Regions from separate parts of the Homo sapiens genome. Here all the other regions are linked to region 4. Evidence: promoter capture Hi-C in 16 types of primary human blood cells and fetal thymus (Javierre and others, 2016). All regions are on one chromosome and are shown on one strand. Each heading gives the region's core, a stretch centred on a gene start or on the middle of the fragment in contact. The rest is flanking DNA. Distances are from core to core; before and after follow the strand shown. Region 1 holds the start of WRAP73 (WD repeat containing, antisense to TP73). Region 2 holds the start of CEP104 (centrosomal protein 104). Region 3 holds the start of SMIM1 (small integral membrane protein 1 (Vel blood group)). Region 4 holds the start of NPHP4 (nephrocystin 4).

Region 1 (3,354 bases), core at 22-2,521, 2.3 Mb after region 4:
GAAGCCCGTGGCTTCGCGAGCGAGCCGGGCTGGCGCAGACTGGGTTCTCTGGCCGCAGCGGGTCCGCGCCTGACGGGGAGGGTCCGGCTGACTCGCACATCTTCATGGCTCACCCACTGTTTGCTGGGCGCACGGGGTGGGGACCCAAAGACGAATCCCATGCAGAGGTTTGGGTCTAGTTTTGGCAACAGAAAAGGCCGGCACCGCCGGAGTAGGACGCGCGCGCACCACCATCCATTCGGCCGGGGAGGTTGGGGCGTCCGCGGGGAGCAGACCCGAGGCTGGGCGCCCGGAGGTACGAGCAGGACCCTGGCCGGCTCTCAGCTCCCAGAACCCAGGGCCAGGCGGGGATGTCAGGGTCTGCGCGATCTGGGGGGCCCTAGAGGCGCCGGCGGGGCCTGGCGCGGACTACTAGCGGCCTGCGGGAGCCAGGGGTGGAGGGGGCCGCTGTCTAGGGAAGAGGACCGGGGTCCGGAGTGGGGGTGAGAACGAGGCACGCCCCTGAGCCTGCGAAACCTGCGGACCGAGCGCCCGCGCAGGAGCTCGCTCCCTCTGGGCCCCCAGGTCCCAGACCCGCACGATTCTTCGCCCGGTGCCAGCCCAGATGCGCGCGGGTGATGAACGGGCGGTGGCCGCGATCCACGCGCTCGCTCTGCCCAGTCAGCGGCAAATTCGTTCTCTCCTTGATCTCAGTGGCACTGGAGCGTGAGGCAAGGGCCAGGCGGCAGGTAGAGGGGTCGGACTCAGCAAAAGCAAACAAAACCCCAAGCAAACGAAATAAATACTTATACATTACATACACGATATAATATATGTGCGACAGACACCGTATTACTTATTAAAGATATATTTGTAGGTAAACATATATTTACATGTAAACATACATTTACATATAAATATAAATATATATATATGCATGTGTACACACACGCAGACACACAGGTCGCTCAATTAAATTTGAATTTCAGACTAGCGAGTAATTTTTCCGTATTAGCATGTCCCGTGCAATATTTGGGAACATACTTATAACTAGATTTGTTGTGAATCTGAAATTCAAATTTTACTGTGCTTTCTACATTTTTATCAGCAGCCCTAGCTGGAGGTGCTCAAAGGCCTCCCGGCCTTTGAGGTAAGGTTCTCGGGTCGGAAATCCCTGGTCGGAAGAAACGTGGGCGTTTCCTTTAAAGCCCTGCGGCACAAGAACTACAAGCCCCACAATGCCGCGCGGAAGCCGGCGGCGCTGATAGGCTGCAGTTCACTTCCGCCTTCTGACTTCCGGCCTCGGAGGCCGGCGTCGGCTGTTGCAGCCTGCTGCGCGCCCAGGGGTCCCGCGGGTTTTCGGGCGCAGGGTGGCGCCCGCGGCAGGCGGCGGCCATGAACTTCTCCGAGGTATTCAAGCTCTCCAGCTTACTCTGCAAGTTCTCCCCGGACGGCAAGTACCTGGTGAGCGGCGGGGACCTGGGCCACGGGCAGGACATCCTCGGTGCCAGCGTCCCCGGCGGGCAGGGCCGGGGGCGGCCGCGTGGGTGGAGGCAGCTTGGGGATCCTGCAGGTGCGGTGCCCGGACAGGTGCGGGGCCCGGGCAGGTACCCGGGGCAGGTGCAGTGTCTGAGCAAGTGCCCCAGACAGGTGCGGGACCCAGGAAGATACCCTAGACAGGTGGAGGGCCCGGGGAGGTGCCCCAAGCAGGTGCGGGGCCCAGGCAGGTACCCCAAGCAGGTGCGGGGCCCAGGCAGGTACCCCAAGCAGATATGGGGGCCGGACAGGTGCAGGACCCCGGCAGGTGCCCGGGCAGGTGCGGGACCCAGGAAGATACCGTAGACAGGTGGGGGGTCTGGGGAGGTGCCCTTGGAAAGGTGGGTATCGGCAGTGCCGACTGCACACAGGTGAGGGTATAGGAGATGTCGGCTCTTTGTTGTTACTTTGTCACAAAAGGCAAATTGATGATTCTGTTGCCTGTAAACTGGTAAGTGGTGTGGCTACTTTGTCATCTCTACTTCTCCTCTAATTCTCTTCTCCTCTACCACATGCCGAATAAATGATTTAAATACTAGTATTCTATCCCCAGGTAAGGAAGTAGTTGTCCTCATGGCTGGGATTTGAGGTCTTCGTTCCATGGGTGGCAGAAGGGTGCTTAAATCACAGAGCTATAACTTTAAGCTTCAAAACATATAGTGTATGTACCTGGATGCCTAGTAGTGTATATCCTCAGAAGAGAGGGATAACCCGGATGCCTAGTATGTATGTCCTCAGAAGAGGGGGACAATTGGCATTGGAAAGCCACTAAGAAGAAACATGCCTCGTAAAAAGTGGGCTTCGTTTTCCTTATCCACCACCTGTACTAACTGACTGATGTATCATGATGCTTTTTCAGGTTTTGCCACTCCTGACATTCCTGTGCTCTGTCTAGCTTTTGAGAGTTTAACTCTCAAATTACGTTTTTTACCTCTTCAGGGAGGTTTTATTCCAAATCACATAAAATAGCATCAGCTACAAAACAGAAAACCTCATTAGTTTAAATGGCATCTCAGCCTTGGTATATTTTCAATGTGCCCCCCTCCTCAATTAAATGAGAGGTTTGTTTTTTGTTTTTACCATTTATGAAAATTTCAGTGAATTATAAGGAGAAAGATTACATCTGCTTGCTTAACTTGGGTGTTTTTTTCCAGCTTGTACACTCTGGTCAAAATACCCTGAAACACTTGGTAATGATCTGTTACTGGAATCATCTTCTTGAAAGCCCTGAGGACTGGGGAGAGCAGGTCCATGTTTCTAGTTTTCATATCTTGCAGTAGAGTTTATGTGGTTCCTCAAGGTGTTGGTAAAAATATTCCATTTCATAAGGAATTCACTGTAACTGATCACAGTTTTCAAAGCTACAGTGTGAGAAAGTAAGTGCTGTGGTAGCTCCTTGTTCCAATCTGCCGTCACCCGCCTGTCTCTCTTTTCTCCCACGGAAAACTAACGTGGCTTTCTTTTTTGATATCGGTTCATAAAACACAAACTACTTTGACCTTGATAAGTAAAACTAACGAAGCAGTTAATATTTAAACATCAGTTCTTGATCTTGAAACTGTAGTAAAATATACATTCAGCAGGTGAGTACTCAGGCGTTATTTTTACTTGAAATTGTTTGCTTGGATAGGGACATAATGAACAAATATGGACAAGAAGAAACTATCTTTAAGAAAATAGTACTAACACTTAAACATTTCCCGTTTCGTGTTAGGAATAGGTTAATGGAGATAAATGAGCATTTGCGAAGCATCTTTATGTGTGCAGAAGTGAAAGCCTGTCTTTTGATCTTCTGTTGTTTTGGCTCTGAGTTCGGCACTGCATAAGAAGATTGATGCA
Region 2 (3,180 bases), core at 191-2,690, 2.1 Mb after region 4:
TCACAAACGACCGGAATGAGCTGTGCTTAAAGAAGCAGGCTCAGGCTGCCGCCTGTATGCCACAGTCGCTCCAACGCCCAGGCAAGGATGAGGGAGCGGGAGCAAGGGCGCCTGACTGCGGGCCGTTCTAAAATACGAAGAGTCAGGAAAAACATACATCAGGGGGTGACTGCTGGCTCTGCAGGATTCACCCTTTTTAAATGAGCTCCTGAGGGCGCTTCAAATAGAGCCTGTCTTTGACAGCGCCGCCTCCCTGCTGCCAGGAGCTGAACACCACCATCCCCAGCACACAGCCGCCAGAGCGGTGCTGGCACACGAAGGAGAACGGTTGGTTGCCTCTGTGCACAAGTGTGACCGGCACGTGGCACTGTTAATTTGTTGGAGTCCGGTTCCCTGTTACTCTGCACTGGTCAGTTTTAGGCATTTTATGGCTACTCCCACCCCACCCGCACCGACCCCGGCAATGCACACCTGGTAACCCTAGTACTGGTCTAAAAAGAAAACCAACCTAGAATAAGGTGACGATTGCAATCCCCAGCTGCGAGGGCTGGAAGGGGCCTGCAGAGCCCACCTAGCCAAGCCTTTCATGTTACTCAAGGGGAAGCTGAGGCCGGACAGGCAGAGCAGCCGTGACCCCGCGTGCCAGTACCTGGCACTCTACCCGGGTCTCCTAGCTCTGATGCAGGGCTGTCCTGCCCGAGAGGTGGGAAGAGGGAAGGGGTGATCCAGGTCGTCCCCCAACCCCCCTGCGTTCTGAAGCCACGCTCAGGAACCCCAGGCTGCGGGGGCCCGGGGTCCTAGCGGCTGAGGCGAACGAAAACTACCCGCCCCGGGCGCCGCCTGCACCCTCCGTTTTGGAAGAGGAAAAGCGGCACCTCCTATTCTCCCCACACGCCTCCCCGACGGGCCGTCCCCGCCTAGCCCAGCGGGCACCTGGAAGCGGAGACAGCCCTTGCGCAGCACCTCCTGGCAGCTCCGGCCAGCCACGCCGAACTTCCTCGGGCTGCGCAGGGCCCGCAGCTTCACGCTCTTGGGCTTCTGGAGCATTGCAGATGTCCTCAAGCCCTCTGGGTCCCACAGGCGGTGGCACCTGCTGCCCAGCTGCTCAGATCCGTCCTCGCCCTGGCCGCAGGGGTCTGCACCTGGTGAGCTCTGCAAGCTGGCACAGGCCGGGTGCCGATCCCGGAAACTACATTACCCAGAAGGCCTGGGAAAAGTGAGGCCCGACGCGGTCTTGTGCGCAGGCGTCGCCCCACGGACACCACATTACCTTACTCAGAAGGCTCAGGAAAGCAAAGGCGCGACGCCACCTGGTGTGCCCAGGTGCCGTGGCCCCGGAAACTACACAACCCTGAGGGCCAGAGTAGCGGAGCCCTCCCCTTGTGCGCAGGCGCGGCCTGGGGTGGGGCGGGGTCGCGCACGCGCAGAGGCCCTGGCCCAGGGCTGGGCTTGGTTGTCATGAGAGTGGAGGCTGCGGCCGGGGCTATGGGCAGAGGTGGCCGGGTCTGCTTCTTCCCTGTCACTGCCGCAGCAGCTTGGGGTGCAAGGCGGCCTGGGGCGGCGGAAGGGGCGCCCCCCGAGTTCCGTCTGAGGAAGCGGCGGCTGCCGAGGAAGTCCACGAGAGCCGGGTCCCGCACGCCCCTGGGGTCCGGGTGCTGAGGCGCCGCCTGGCCGCCTCCCCGGGCCGCGGCACCGCTCCGACCCAGCCGCCCTCTCCACCGGGGCCGCGGCAGCGCCAGTCGGGGCCCTTCCCTCTAAGCAGGTACCTTCCGGGCCGCTGCGGCGCCGGCCCAGGGCCGGAGTGGGGAGCGGGGCGCGGGGCGCGGGGCGCGGGCGCCGCGGGGGCGCGGTCCCCACCTGGGAGCTGGGTACGAAGCCTGGGTGCGCGGTGCAAGCGCGGACGGTGTGGAGTTAGATGCCGGCCTTGCTGTCGCCGAAGAGCCGGCGCGGCCCCGTCGTGCCGTATGCCGGGGAGCTCAGCACGGGTGCTGGGACCGCCTGCCCCGGCCGGGACGGCCCATTTAGCGTGGAATATTGTTTTCAGATCCGGCTTTTCCTCTTCTGGATGCGTAGCACATAGGGGGCCAGTTTCAGATGTGTTCTGCTGAGCAAAAGTTTGAGGAAAATTGCTCTGTCCCTATAGAGATTAAAGTCTGATGGTTGGTTGTTTTTTGTTTTGGAGTTTGTTTTGTTTTGTTTGCACTTAAGTTCAGATTTCTCTGAAGCCCTTTCAGTCGCTAAGATGACTTGATCAGAAACCCATAAGCCTTTGAGACGGTCTCGCTCTGTCGCCCAGGCTGGAGTGCAATGGCACGATCTCAGCTCACTGCAGCCTCCGCCTCCCGGGTTCAAGCGATTCTCCTGCCTCAGCCTCCCGAGTAGCCCGACTAATTTTTTTATTTTTAGTAGAGACGGGGTTTCACCATGTTGGCCAGGCTGGTCTCGAACTCCTGACCTCAAGTAATACGCCCTCCTCGGCCTCCCGAAGTGCTGGGATTACAGGCATGAGCCACCGCGCGCAGTCACACTTAAAAGTCTTCTTAAAAAGAAAATCAGAGACAAGTTTTGTTTCCTAGTCTTGTAACAAAATGGAAGTTGCTACACTGAGTTTCCGTTTAATTTATAGTTAATTGCCTTTTACCATGCCAGCACTAGGAAAAGTGTAGTGAGGGATGAGACCGCCATGGAGTCATCGCTGCCTGGGGAGAGATGTACTCTGGCATTTGTCGGGATGTCGATGGCTGCCCCTGGGACAACAGGGATCCCTCATGCCTCTGGTGAGGAAGACCAGCCAATAACTGGATGTTCAACAGAGCTTTGCTTCTTCCCAAATTGTTAATGGTGATTTTTATAGAGCCTAAAAGTGGCATCCTTCAGTGACATTCCAAGTATCTTATGTAACACTTGAAGGTTTACACAGAGGGGACCCTAGGGTACAACTGGAAGGTCTTTGGGAGGGGGTAGACTAAAAAAGGAATCCTTTTCAAATACCAGACTGAGGTAATAGCATTGCCTCCACAGTCCCTGTGCATTTCTCTTAGCTGGTTCTTAAATGCCAGTACTTTGTTTTAGATTTGTTGGGGGCAGTATAGCATACTGGAAACACCCTTCTGTTTGACTGAAAAGGTCCTATATTTATGTCTTCGAGCCGTAACAGAGAGTGTTGGTTAGGTTCAGAGA
Region 3 (2,957 bases), core at 438-2,937, 2.2 Mb after region 4:
CCGGCCTGAGCCAGCCCGGACTCTAAGCACCTCCTTTACCCTCTGGCCTCTGTTTCGACCTCCTATTTACCTAAGGGGGTGTGGGGGTGGAGGAGTTGGAGGGGGCACGAGAAGTTGACAACCCACCCAGGCTGTGGGACTGGGGTCAGCTCTCTGGTCTGCTGGGCCCCCAGTGTCCCCTCTCAGCATCTGGCCCCCAGGAGTGGGGTCCTCGGGCAGGCAATGGCAGGCCCCTCACTTCTAGGAGCTGAGGCTTTGCTGGGCCCCCTCCAGCGGGGAAGGCTGACCTTCCTCCCAGGTCATCGGCACAGAGGCCTAAAGGCACAGCAGCCACTCCCCTGCAAGAAGCCAGCTCAGAAACTCAGGCCCCAGGCAGTTCTGAGACTCCCGGCACTTCCATGTCTGCCTTCCCCCAAAGCCCAGAGAGGCAGAAGGAGCTGTCTCAAAGCCATAAAGTGTGCCTTCGGTGGGAGCCCTGGCTCAGTGCAGCCTGGCACTCAGGCCCGGAGAGGCCCAGCCTCTACTGGAGTATGGGTGCTGTTTTCCCGGAGCATGTGGAGCGGTCAGCTGCCTACCCGAGGTTCACGCCCTCTTGCCTGGTGTGCAGAATCCCATTCTGGTCCCAGCAGCAATGTGCCAGCCCCAGGTAACAGCCATGACCCGGGTAAGACAAGCTTAATACCACCACCCCTGCTTTCCCAAGTCACCCAGCTGGGGTCCAGGAGCCAGGGTGCAGCAGGGGATGGGAGAGTTTGCTTCTGTGAAAGCAGCAGCAGCCACCTCCTTCTTCCAGACTCGACGTGATGGCTGGAGCTGCTGGAGCTGCAGCAGCCGCCTTGCAACCCGACATCCACGCAGCATTAGTCTCGGGAGTGCTGAGGCTCCAAGTCCACAGCAGCAGCCCACCATGGGCCTCCCGGTGGGAGGGGTCAAGCCCAGTGTGTTCAACTCTGGGATCATGGGTTCCTGTCTTGCTGACGTAGAACACGTTGTTCCCAAGTCACCCCGGTGCACAGCCACCAGAGCCGGCCCTTGAGGCTGGCCTCCCTCACTTGCTCAGTAAACGTCTCTCCACACTCATGTGATGGTCACAGGTGTGGCGGCAGGAACCCATCAGGGACTCCCCTCCAGGCCCTGGGAGGCTCCCGGATCCTGGCACCTCCTGGGGGCTTGTGAGTGCAGGAAGGCCCTAGGTACACAGGCGCCCCTCCATAGACCTCTTCACCCCACAGCGCCTCAGGGCCCCACACTTACCCGGAGAACCTTGCCTGAGGGCTGGGGCCTCTGGGCCAGGTTGCGGTCAGGGCCTGGCCAGCGGCCCGCACCTCCCAGCGGGGCAGGTCGTGGGCTGAGGTGCGGCAGACGCCTCGAGCCTAAAAAAATAAAGGTGACCGGAGAAGCCGATCTTGCTAAGGGCCGGGAAGGGAAAGTGGCTGGTGTCGGGGGTCCCCAGCAGCCACAAGGAGCCGGGCAAGGAGCCGGGCGGGCAGTTCCGGCCCTGGCCCCGCACCGCGGGTTAGGCCGGTGGGGGTCAGTCCAGGGCACGCCCCCACCCCCGCCAGTTCTCAGCCAGCGAGGCCGCGCACAGTCGCACCTGCCCACTGCGGCCGCACCGGGAAGCCGCAGCCCGGACCCCGCGCGCCTCACCTGTGTCCCCGCGTCTCTGGGCTCCGCAGGGGCCGGGCCTGGGCAGGGGGCGAGGGCGGGGGCGGGGCCACGCGGGGAAGGGCTGGAGCCAGCAGCGGGGAGGTGTCTGGTCCGGAAGGTGGCGGGGCTAGAGTGGTGGGCGGGGCCATGCGGGGAAGGTCTGGGGCCAGTAGCGGGGAGGCGCCTGGTCCAGAAGGGGCCGGGGGCGGGGCGAGAGGGGGCGGGGCGAGAGGGGGGCGGGGCCATGCGGGGAAGGGCTAGGGCCGCAGCGGGGAGGCGCCTGGTCCAGAAGGGGCTGGGGGCGGGGCGAGTGGGGCCGGGAGACGCCTCGTCCGGAAGGGGCCGGGGCTCTAGGCCGCCCAGCCCCGGGGCCAGGAGGTGCAGGGGGGCCGGGCAGGGTCTGCAGAGGGCTGCACTTTCTGCCCCCAGACGGCTCGCCCTTGGGGCCTCCAGGGTCCCCGACCTCCTTCACCCCTGCTGGAGCCCCTCCGACGCCACGAGCCTCCCAGCCCCGCGGGGACCCGGCTGCAGCGCCGACGAGACTGCGGGAGGCTCTGGGCGCGTCTGGGCCTGAATGCTGGGTTCGGGGACCCGGCCGCGGGGACCGTCCTCCTCCGGGGCTTGAGGGGCGTGGCGCCCGCACGTGGCCCACGCTCGGTGCTCGCGGCGGGAAGGGAAGCAGGTGTGGGTGGGGAGCAGAGAAGGGTAATGGGGAGAGTCCCTTCCGAAGGTGTTCAGGCGCCCAGAGCCTCAGAGGCGCCGGGGAAGCGTCGGGGACCACAGACACCGTTCCCGTGCGTAAAGCTTTCCTTCCAGGAGCGGGGGGATGGGAACAGAGCCCCCCACCCTCACCATCTTCCAGAGGGGTCCTCCAGCAAGAGAGTGCCCCAGCCAGGAGAGCCCCCAGGGCAGAAGGTCACAGACCCCTTCTGCTCAGGCGTGAGGTCTGTGCTGAGTGCTGGGCGGACACCCCGGCTCAGGCCTCTGGCAGCCTGGTGCCGCAAGGGGACCTGTTAGGAGCTAGGGGCACAGGCTGGTGTGCTGACTCCCTGTGAGTGAGCTTTGGAATGGGGAGTGTCCTTGTAGCTCAAGGTCGCAGAGGAGAGTAGGCCCCCGCGTGGATCCCAGAGAAGAAAAAGGTGGGACAGTGCCAACACCGGGGTTTAATTCTGAGTCTGAGAGCAGGACGCATGGTGGGGGCGGGTGGTTCTGGAGCTGGGCCCCGGCCTCTGCTGGGCTGACCGTATTTGGGGGCCTGGCTGGGCCTACTTGGAGGTCCCCTTCTTGGATTTGCTGGTCAGGAAGGCCTC
Region 4 (3,372 bases), core at 591-3,090:
TGCAACGCGGGGCCTGAATGCGGCTTCCTTAGCAGAGCAGGAGCTTACTCTTGGCACTGGGGGAAAGGGGAGGGGTGAGGCTGGGGTTTTTGTCGGGGAGGAGAAGTTGCAGAGAAAGAAAAAATCCTGAAACGACAGACAGTGGGACAGCTGTGGCCTGAACTTGGTGTTCTTGCTCCTCGGATGTGGATGTATTAATTTCCATAAATGCTAATAGCCCACTTCCCCAAGAGCTATTACTTATGTCATCTCCCCTTGGACACAGTTCAACACAGGGCAGACAAATGAAAGGGAGGAAAAGACAACCCCCAGTGGCGGTCCCCAGCTCCTCAGCCCCCTCCCAACCAGGCAGCTCAGGTCTGGTTCCTAAGGTGGCCCTGCTAACCGCAGGGTCAAGACCCCTGCCTTCAGCTCCGTAGCCAGGTCCCTATCACGACAGGAAGCAAGAAAGTTACCAACCCCAAAAATGCTGAATCACAAAGTGAGGCTGAGCAGGAAAGTGGGGGTGGGGAGGGAAGGAGACGGTGGCCAGGGAGGAAAGGTGCTAAGGGGCTTTCCACCTGGAGCACCCCGGGATGCTGCGGGCAAAGCACAGTCCCTGTAAGAGCCCCCAGGACAAATGCCAGGAGGAGGGACACCAGGATGCGGCTGGTTGGCGGGGTGGGAAGGTGGGCAGGTACCCCGGCTGCTGCTAATGCCGCAGGACGCGGTGCAGCAGTGGGGTCTTTGCATCCTGGGAGCAGCAGCAGGTAGGGAGGTGCGGAAGTGCTTTGTGCCAAGGCCTGGCAGGAGGGAGAAGCTTAAGATAGGAGTAGGGGCTCAGGGTCAGAAGTGGCGGTGTGTGTGCTGTAAACAGCCCGAGGAACTGGTGCAGGAAGCAGGGTCACAGTCTTGGGGAGCAGGGTAAGGTGGTGAGAGCGTGCCCGCGGGGAGAGGTCGGAGGGGCTGGGGGCAGAATGGGAGGGTGGGGAAAGGGACCGGAGCGACACAGGGACAGGCAGCGAGAACGACGGATGAGCCTTGAGAAGCGATCAGGAGGAGAGATGGGGAGGACCGGGAACAGCAGCGCCCCGGTGGGGCTGCGCAGAGGCCGGGAGAGGGGATGAGAGGAGGATGGAGGAAAGGGGAGGGCGAGGCTGCTAGGACCGGAGCGGGCAGAGATGGGGAAGAGGTGCACCGGGAAGAGGGACGGCGGCAGGGGCAGGGGTCAGGGATGCGAGCTGAAGGGTCGGGCGGGCGGGAGGACAGGGAAGGAAAGACAGAAAGGGATGGGGGAAGGGAGACGATGGAGAAGGAGGTGAGGAGGCTGGAGAGGAGGTGAGACAGCGGCGGAGGCAGGGACGCAGGGCCGGGGAAGAAGAGATGGAGACGGGACCGCGGCGCCTGCCGCAGCGCGGGCCTCGCGGATACCCGCCGCCGCCGTCCCGGAGCAGCTTGGTGGAAAGCGCGCCCCGCCGGGGTCTCCCCGGTACTCACCTGGGGGCTCCAGCTCCGGATCCTGTGCCCCGCGCCGGATCTTCCTTCCCGCCCTGCCCCTGCGACTTTAGCGCCCCCGAATCCCGCTAGCTCCTGCAGGTTCCGCCAGCAGCATCTTCACCTCGTGGGACGCCCGGGGCCACGCCTCTTCCAGCTTCTGATTGGCTATTGTTCACGCCAGTCACATTACCATTGGTTGAGGGGTCGTCGGACATGCAAATCAGGATGGGCCCGCCGCCGCACCGATTGGCTGGCGCTCGCAAAGCGCAGCCCTCGACTTGGGCTCTGATTGGCTCCGCGGCCCTGACGGCGACAGTGACGCGAGGCGGGTTCTTGGACTGAGTGTGCGGCGCGGTGCGCCGCCTTCCGAGGCTCCTCCCGCGGGTGGCAGCGGACGGGGCGCGCCCCTCGGCCAGTCCTCGGTCCTCAGGCTTGTGGCTCCGTTGAGCACCGGCCGCCGGGCCTCTGGGTCCGTCGAGTGGAGACTCTCTGAAAAGCGTGGGCTCCGTGGCCTCCGGCGCGGCCGCGGCGGGTCGGTCTCCTAGGTAACGCGGCCCGCGGCGGGCGGAACCATGTGGGCCGGCGCCGCGGGGGAGGTTGGACGCGGCCTCGAGGCACAGGGGGCCTCAGTGTTGGCCAGAGCCTCGGGGTTCGGGGGTAGGGTGGTCCACGCCGTCCCTGCGTGGGGGCCCGGTGCCTGGGGTGCGGCGGTGGCGCGCGGCGGGGGCTGTCCCCGCGTTAGTCGCAGGCGTCCCCCCTCGTCGGGACACTTGGGGTCGGGGCCGCTGGGTGCCGTTTGGCTACGTGGGTTCCTTTCTGCCCTTGCCCTTTGCCCCCTGCCCCCTGCCCCCTGCCCCCTGCCCCCTGGCCTCTCTGCAGCCCCTCGGCTGAAGGGAGCGCGGTACCGATGTTCTGGGCCTTGGCTCCCCGCGCCCTAGTCCGCGCGCATCCTTCCCAGGCCGGAGTCCGCGGACCCCGCCTGGCCGCGCCCCTCCGCCCCTCCTCCCCGCCCCCCGGCTCCAGCTCCGGCTCCGGCTGTCAGTTCCCCGCGGTGGCTCTGCGGCCTTCGGGCGTCCCTGCGAGGCTTTGTACCCGGCGCCGTCCCGGCCTTCTGCGCCCCTTTCCTGCCTTGGAACCTCCCGGCCGACCCGGCCCGGAAGGCGCCACCCGCTCCCGCGTGCCCTTCCCCACGCGTGCAGGCTGCTCCCGCCCGCCCCCGGGCTTGCAGGCACCTCGCTGCCCGAGATTCCTCGTGTCTAACTTCTTAGGAGACCGCTGCTTTCTGCCTCCGTGTGTCGCGATGTGTGGCTTTGGTGGACGTCTGTGAAGGAAATCCAGCCTCTCGCGTGTGTAGTTGGCAAAAGGAGGAGTATTTCTGTTGATGGTGGGCAGCGCCTCCCGGTCCTAACCCAGGGCTCCGTTCGTTGCACCTCCTCTGTGCAGTTTCCGTAGGTCACACTTGTGTCTTTTTGTATGCTAATTTGTGCCCCGTTTCTTTACATTCTATGGGGGTAGCGAGCTTGTCTGCTGTGTTCAAGACCGTTTCTCCCGGGCGCAGGGTAGGTGCTGAAAGAATGCTCATGAATGAGGGAATTCCAGGCAGTGCTTAATCAGACCTCTGCTTCCCCAAAAGCTCCCCAAGGCATCTGGGTCTCAGGCATTACACATTTTCCATTCCGGGAAGGAGGCTTCCCGGACCCTGACAGCGCCTCCCACCCCCTGCATCTTCCTTCAGCCCTGCTCACCTCTGCACCCTCCCGGGGGCCTGTTGCTGCTCACAGTCACTTTCTTGTCTTTCTCCCCCACTGGCTTTCTAGATGCTTGAAGACAGCACATTTGACAGCCTTCTTATGCACTGGAACACAAGTGCTCGGGAAATAGTTGCTGAATAGATCA

What was found. The method cuts DNA at HindIII sites, captures the fragments that hold promoters and counts their contacts. A CHiCAGO score of 5 or more calls a contact.
Region 1: the fragment with the promoter of WRAP73 here is called in contact with the fragment with the promoter of NPHP4 in region 4 in 3 of 17 cell types (fetal thymus, endothelial precursors and neutrophils); the score reaches 7.3 in fetal thymus.
Region 2: the fragment with the promoter of CEP104 here is called in contact with the fragment with the promoter of NPHP4 in region 4 in 1 of 17 cell types (fetal thymus); the score reaches 5.6 in fetal thymus.
Region 3: the fragment with the promoter of SMIM1 here is called in contact with the fragment with the promoter of NPHP4 in region 4 in 1 of 17 cell types (endothelial precursors); the score reaches 6.5 in endothelial precursors.

Annotation. Positions count from the first base shown.
Region 1 is chr1:3,648,020-3,651,373 of GRCh38, reverse strand. WRAP73 (WD repeat containing, antisense to TP73) reads left to right here and starts at 1,271. Exons shown (of 12, transcript NM_017818.4): 1 at 1,271-1,443. The coding sequence starts at 1,375. RefSeq lists an enhancer at 207-1,050. The HindIII fragment of the contact is 11,564 bases long and covers 1-2,162 here.
Region 2 is chr1:3,855,471-3,858,650 of GRCh38, reverse strand. CEP104 (centrosomal protein 104) reads left to right here and starts at 1,440. Exons shown (of 22, transcript NM_014704.4): 1 at 1,440-1,762. DFFB (DNA fragmentation factor subunit beta) reads right to left here and starts at 1,175. Exons shown (of 7, transcript NM_004402.4): 1 at 934-1,175. The coding sequence starts at 1,047. RefSeq lists silencers at 294-343, 1,274-1,773 and an enhancer at 954-1,133. The HindIII fragment of the contact is 29,508 bases long and covers 1-3,180 here.
Region 3 is chr1:3,771,479-3,774,435 of GRCh38, reverse strand. It overlaps SMIM1 (small integral membrane protein 1 (Vel blood group)), which reads right to left and starts at 1,687. Exons shown (of 4, transcript NM_001288583.2): 1 at 1,648-1,687; 2 at 1,255-1,373. It overlaps CCDC27 (coiled-coil domain containing 27), which reads right to left. Exons shown (of 12, transcript NM_152492.3): 12 at 2,791-2,957. The coding sequence ends at 2,913. RefSeq lists enhancers at 308-823, 824-1,339, 2,626-2,957 and a silencer at 1,401-2,280. The HindIII fragment of the contact is 1,777 bases long and covers 677-2,453 here.
Region 4 is chr1:5,990,893-5,994,264 of GRCh38, reverse strand. NPHP4 (nephrocystin 4) reads left to right here and starts at 1,840. Exons shown (of 30, transcript NM_015102.5): 1 at 1,840-2,021. It also overlaps a transcript of KCNAB2 not described here. RefSeq lists enhancers at 491-540, 2,417-3,271 and silencers at 1,291-1,540, 1,621-1,800, 1,841-2,010, 2,161-2,340. The HindIII fragment of the contact is 3,854 bases long and covers 802-3,372 here.